Linked DNA regions of Homo sapiens: region 2 is linked to region 1. Evidence: promoter capture Hi-C in 16 types of primary human blood cells and fetal thymus (Javierre and others, 2016). All regions are on one chromosome and are shown on one strand. The core of a region is centred on a gene start or on the middle of the fragment in contact, and the rest is flanking DNA. Distances in the headings are between cores, read along the strand shown.

Region 1 (3,021 bases), core at 219-2,718:
GAGGATTTGTGTACGCTATATGCAGATACTGTGTCAATTCATATGAGGGACTTGAGCATCCCTGGATTTTGGTATCCACGGATGTGCTGGAACCAGTCCCCTGGGGGATACCGAGGGACATCATGATAATAGGCCCGGAAGAGGACAGACGAACACACTGGGCCATGGGGCAGCACTGAGCGGTGGTGGAAGAACCCCGAGTAGCCGGAGAAAGAGCAGGAGGGCCTTCCAGGGAAGAGGGAATGGCCTGTGTGAACCCAGGCTGAACCTCTCATTCCTGGGACTCGATTTCTCCATTTGTACAAACTGCTTGGTTTGTGGTCTGCAAGAGCCCTTCCTGTTCCTCCAGGAAGCCTCTCAGGGACCTCTGTCCCTGGCCAGCTCTGCTCCTCTGACCGCTGCGGGTCCTGCAGGCCATAGCCCTGGCTCCTGTGTGTGCACCAGACACGTCTAGGCCTCTTCAGCGGGACCTATCTCTCTGCTCAACTCAATCAACAGTTCTTTAGAAATTTCCAGGGGCAGCAAAGTGCTGTAGCCCCTGACATGTTTTAGGGCTGAATGGGGGTGGGTATCAGCAGACTCAATACGTATTTATTAACTTAAAAGAAGTGTCATTGGTCTATTGGCAAAGCTGGTTAGCAATAACCTTATCTTCTCCAGGAATAATGATCACTAATCATTCCTTCCTGCTGGGGGTAGGAGACAACCCGGCGTATGGTGGTGGAGCACCTGGGAGACAGAGGCAGAGATCTCGTTCCTCGATCCCGGCGCGTTGGTTGTAAAGTAGGAACAGTAATAGCACCTACCTCTAGGGCCACGGAGACCGAATGAAATAATGCCTGTCAAGTCACTTAGTACACAGTAAGCACTCAGTAATGCTAGGTTGTTGTTATTATAATAAATTTTTAGCGAACGGGAAGACCAAGCACCGGTTGGTACTGGGCTAGGCGCCGTAGGCAAAGATGTGGAGATGTCCCGGAGGCGCCTAGGGTATCCGGGCGAAAACCCGAGGGCCGAAGGCTGGGAGGAGGCGGAGCGTCGGGCACCGGGCACCGGGCACCGGGCGGGAGGTGAGCCCCTGGAAAAGGAGGGGGCTCCGGGCGCGTTCTCCCAGCAGCCGCGGCTCCTCTGTTCAGGGCCGCGCCCCCTTCGCCGCACTTTCTCTTTGATTTCGAAAGCACTCCTCTCCTCCACCTAGTCTCCTTTCCTGGGTTGCAGGAGATTACTGCTTGCGGGGAAGACCAAGACGCCAGGCCGGCGGATTAGTCCCCGCCCCGGGGCGGTGCAGCTGGAGCGTCAGGGGAGTCCCGCTCGCCGCAGCCCCAGCGCCGCGCGCGCCCCTCCCTCCTCGCGGACCTGGCGGTGCCGGCGCCCGGAGTGGCCCTTTAAAAGGCAGCTTATTGTCCGGAGGGGGCGGGCGGGGGGCGCCGACCGCGGCCTGAGGCCCGGCCCCTCCCCTCTCCCTCCCTCTGTCCCCGCGTCGCTCGCTGGCTAGCTCGCTGGCTCGCTCGCCCGTCCGGCGCACGCTCCGCCTCCGTCAGTTGGCTCCGCTGTCGGGTGCGCGGCGTGGAGCGGCAGCCGGTCTGGACGCGCGGCCGGGGCTGGGGGCTGGGAGCGCGGCGCGCAAGATCTCCCCGCGCGAGAGCGGCCCCTGCCACCGGGCGAGGCCTGCGCCGCGATGGCAGAGATGGGCAGTAAAGGGGTGACGGCGGGAAAGATCGCCAGCAACGTGCAGAAGAAGCTCACCCGCGCGCAGGAGAAGGTGAGCGAGCCGGAGCCCCAGCAGCCGCGGAGTCCCAGCCGCCGCGGAGCCCCGGCCACCTGTCCCCCTATCCTCCGACCCCGGGGCCTGGTCCTTCGCCAGGATCTGGTGCTGTCACCTCTAGAGGAGCGCTTTCGAGGGGCTTCGAGGTCCCCAGGCTGCGTTCCCCGGCGCTCTGGGTGCCCTCTTAGGTTTGCGTCCTCTGTCTCCCCACACCCGGCCGGGGCAGGACAGGGCCCCGCTTTGCACCTTCGTGGCTCGGCTGCACAGCAGTGGCCGGCCCTGCTCCAGGCTCTTCTCAGGCGCGCGCTCCAGGCTACCCCGCTTTGGAGGCCAAGGGCCGGGAGGCTGGGAGGCCAGGTGGTGACCCTCAGCTCTCCAGGCCCATGCAGGCAACCTAGGCTGGGCCGGCGCTCGGGGCGAGAGGGAGTATGTCCCTCTGCCCCTGGGGACACTATTCCCCCGGACTCCCAAGGCTGCTTCTCGAACCGGCACCCACAGTTCCTTCCTTCCCACTGCTTCTCCACTTTCGTTCTCCGTGGGCCGAAGGAGGGATTGGGTTTCCTTTCCCGAGAGGTGCCTGCGGCCTGGAAGCTCCCGCCCAGCCCGGCCCCACCGGGAGCCCAGGGCTACGCACCCCGCAAGGAGGTGCCCTCGCCCCAGCAGGGGCTTAGCGTTTCCGGCGGCCGGGGAGCGGGTGGCGGCACTGGCTTTGGGAGCCCACGGCCGGGTGGGGAGCTGGCCTGGAGGAGGCGCGTGGAAGGCGCCACAGGAAACCCGACCCCTCCTCGCGGAGAGCTGGAATGGGGGATGGAGCCGGGGCCTCCCAGGGTGCCCAGAGCGTGCAGGAAATGCAGAGATTGAGGGGCGGGGGTCTGCACCCGGTCAGTTGTCTATCCCAAGCCACCTCTGGTTTATTGAATTGGATCACGCCAGCTGCTGACGCCACTTCCCCTGACGACTCCAACTCTGAAATCTGAGATTGCAGAATCTGTGTTTCTGCCAGGGTGGCCCCCCAGTGCCCCGCGGCCAGGCCTGCCCCCTCTCCCACCCGCTGCGCGGCCGCCGGGTGGAGGCGCAGGGACAGGCCGGCCTTCCCCTGCCAGGCCTGGTGGCTGTTTATAAACAATGACTTTTGCTTCTGAGACCCGCGGGCTCCCTAAGGATGCAACCACGTGATTGCTGGGGGATGGGGGAGAGGGGGGCGCCTAGAGCTTCCCCATACCTCCCTCAGAGTCCTACTGCTCATCCCTGTGTTT
Region 2 (2,700 bases), core at 68-2,567, 33 kb before region 1:
GAGACATGGCCTGCTGCAGTGGTCCTCCAGTGTGTTCCAGAAGCAGAAGCCCGGGAGGTTGTAAGGCTTTTTCTGGATGCTTTGGAAAAATCACGGGGCAGAGCTTTGCATTCGACTTACCCGCATGGGACGGCAGTGGGCTTAGTGTTGAACAGAGTTGAGTTAGGGACGTAGTGCTGCTCTTTGCCGGCAGTGAAATCTTGAGAAAATTTTGTATTTTTTTCTCTAAGCTTGTCTCCTCATTTGTAAATTGAGAGTTATTACTAATACCTAGCTCATAGGGTTGCTCTGAGCACTTGAAAAATCTATTTAGAAATTAGCTAAAAATGGCAGACTGAACCCCAACCACTTTTTCCTGTCCCAAACCCTTAGAAATACCAGAAAAAATAAATACATGTCATCCAAAAATGTTCTAGGAGACGAGAAGGGGCCTCGGTGGATTTAAAGTTGCGAGGAATTATTGAAAGAAGGAAATTGGTGGGGTTGAAAGGAAGAAACCACTGCCCAAAATACGTATAGGGAGACCTGCTGTCATAGGCAGTTTTGAAGGGAATTTAAGCTTGAAGATGGTGAATGGGGTGGTGGTGACTGGTAGGTCGTGGGTTAGGATGTTGCAGTAGGAACCACAAAGCCAGCCAGCTATCTACTCCTCCCACCACACCTTTCCCACTTAGCCAAATAGCAGGCAGCAGGGATCTCTGTCTCCCTCCTGCCAGTGTGAACGCCCAGCCTAGGGAGGCAAGGTGACACTCTGGACAAACGGACCTCGGATGCAGGCACACCACGTCCACCAGCTTGTTTTCCACCCACGGTCATCTCTCCCACACCGTGGCTGGAGGCATCACCCATAGACTGGGTAACAAAGAACCTCAAACACAAGACGAGCACACACCAGAGCCGCTGAACACTGAGGAAAGCACTGCCATGACTGGGACGCAGAGCACAGGAAACAGACTGATACCCAGATAAACAGCAAGCAGAGCACACGGACGAAGCACAGTTAATCTCAGAAAGCTGTGAGAGGAAACGGTGTGAGGCCTTAGAAATAAAAAAGAAGACGCTCAAAGGTATATTCAAAAAGGGGCTTTTGGAGTATGATCAGACTGGATGTAGGTCAATAATAGCATATTAGTGAACTGGAAAATCAAATTGAGGACTTCATCTAGAATGCCCCGCAAAAAGAAGAGATAGAAAGCATAAAATAAAAGTGAGGATATATGAAGACTAGATTCAGAAATGTTAATACCTTTTAAATAGGAGCTCCAGAAAGAGGGACTAGAGAGGTTGGATGTGGGGAACGCTAAGATTAATAGAGAAGGAAATTTCTCAAGTCTACAAAAGACAAAAGTCCTCATCCTGAAGGGGCCCACTTCATGACAAGCAGAACAGAAAATGATAGACTGGCTGGGCTGAAACTTAGAACATGAAGGATGGAGAAAAGGAAAACAGATTACTCCTAAGAGAAAGCAGACTAATATTAGATTTAGCTACAACACTGCATGTTGGAAGATCTTCAGAGACCCAGGGGAAATATTTTTAGAGATCTAAGGGACACATGTTTGAATCGGCTAAAGCCATCATTCAAGTGTGAAGGTAAAATATGTAAAGACAATTTCAGACATCCACAGATGAGAAAATGAGTCACCTTCCATCCTACCTGTAGGAGGAGGTACTTCAACACAATGAAAATAAATCCAAGAGAAAGCTACAGATTCAAGAAGCAGTGGTGAGTAAAGGAATTAGAATTTGCTGCTAAGTCTAAATGGAACTGGAACTAAAAGCTCAAGTGGTATTAACATTGCAGGTGGGGAGGAGAAGGAGAGGAAGGAAGTCCAAGTGGGCTAAGGTTTGTGCTTTGCCGAGCATAATGACAAGGGGCACTACACTTACACAGGCTATAAGGGAAAATAAAATAATGGACAGATGTTGGAGTTAAAATTTAAAGGTAAGCACTTAATCAGAAATTAAATGAAGAAGAGCTGGTCAATTGATAAAAAAGGAAAACCGTGGGGAAAAGTAGAAAGCATGGTACATATATTAATAAATATAAAACAATATGGCAGAAACAAGCTTTGACATGTCAGTAATCACAATAAATGGGAATGGTTTGAATTGTCTCATGAAAAACAACAAATCAGGAGGAAAAGAAATCCCTAAAATGCAGCTACATGCTATTTCTGAGATACAAAGAAATAATGACAGAAAAATTGAAAACGAAAGGATGGAAAAAAGGTACATCAAATATATGCTAACAAAAAAGGTAACAAGTTTAATAATGTCATAAAAATGGAATTCAAGGCAAAACAAAAGGAAAAAAGAAAATATTTCATAATGATGTAACAATTATGAACTTTTATTCATCTAACAACCTAACATCAAAGTATTGGGAGAAAAGCACACCATGCTGTTTTGTTTACTATAGCCTTGTAGTATAGTTTGAAGTCAGGTAGCGTAATGCCTCCAGCTTTGTTCTTTTTCCTTAGGATTGTCTTAGCTATGTGGGCTCTTTTTTGGTTTCAGATGGGCTCACAGGAAACTGGTCACAGTGTCTACTCCCAGGGAAAGAATCTGGGTGATTGGGGGATGAGAAGAAGAGACTGTTCTTCTACTCTATGCCCATTGGTACCTCTTAAAATAGATATTTCTTTGACCCAAAATGGAGATAAAATGCATAGGTACTGGAAAGGAAGAAAATTGTTT

The links. Contacts are between HindIII fragments. The CHiCAGO score rates a contact against its expected background, and 5 or more counts as called.
Region 2: a contact is called between a fragment that was not itself captured here and the fragment with the promoter of BIN1 in region 1, in 1 of 17 cell types (endothelial precursors). The highest score is 6.6, in endothelial precursors.

The regions. Positions count from the first base shown.
Region 1 is chr2:127,105,601-127,108,621 of GRCh38, reverse strand. BIN1 (bridging integrator 1) reads left to right here and starts at 1,468. Exons shown (of 19, transcript NM_139343.3): 1 at 1,468-1,762. The coding sequence starts at 1,679. It overlaps LOC105373605 (a long non-coding RNA gene), which reads right to left and starts at 1,477. Exons shown (of 4, transcript XR_923311.4): 1 at 807-1,477. RefSeq lists silencers at 1,341-1,400, 1,235-1,529, 1,411-1,620. The HindIII fragment of the contact is 12,156 bases long and covers 1-3,021 here.
Region 2 is chr2:127,138,952-127,141,651 of GRCh38, reverse strand. No RefSeq gene overlaps it. Among named protein-coding and RNA genes, the nearest start is that of BIN1, 33 kb to the right of the region's middle. The HindIII fragment of the contact is 1,511 bases long and covers 562-2,072 here.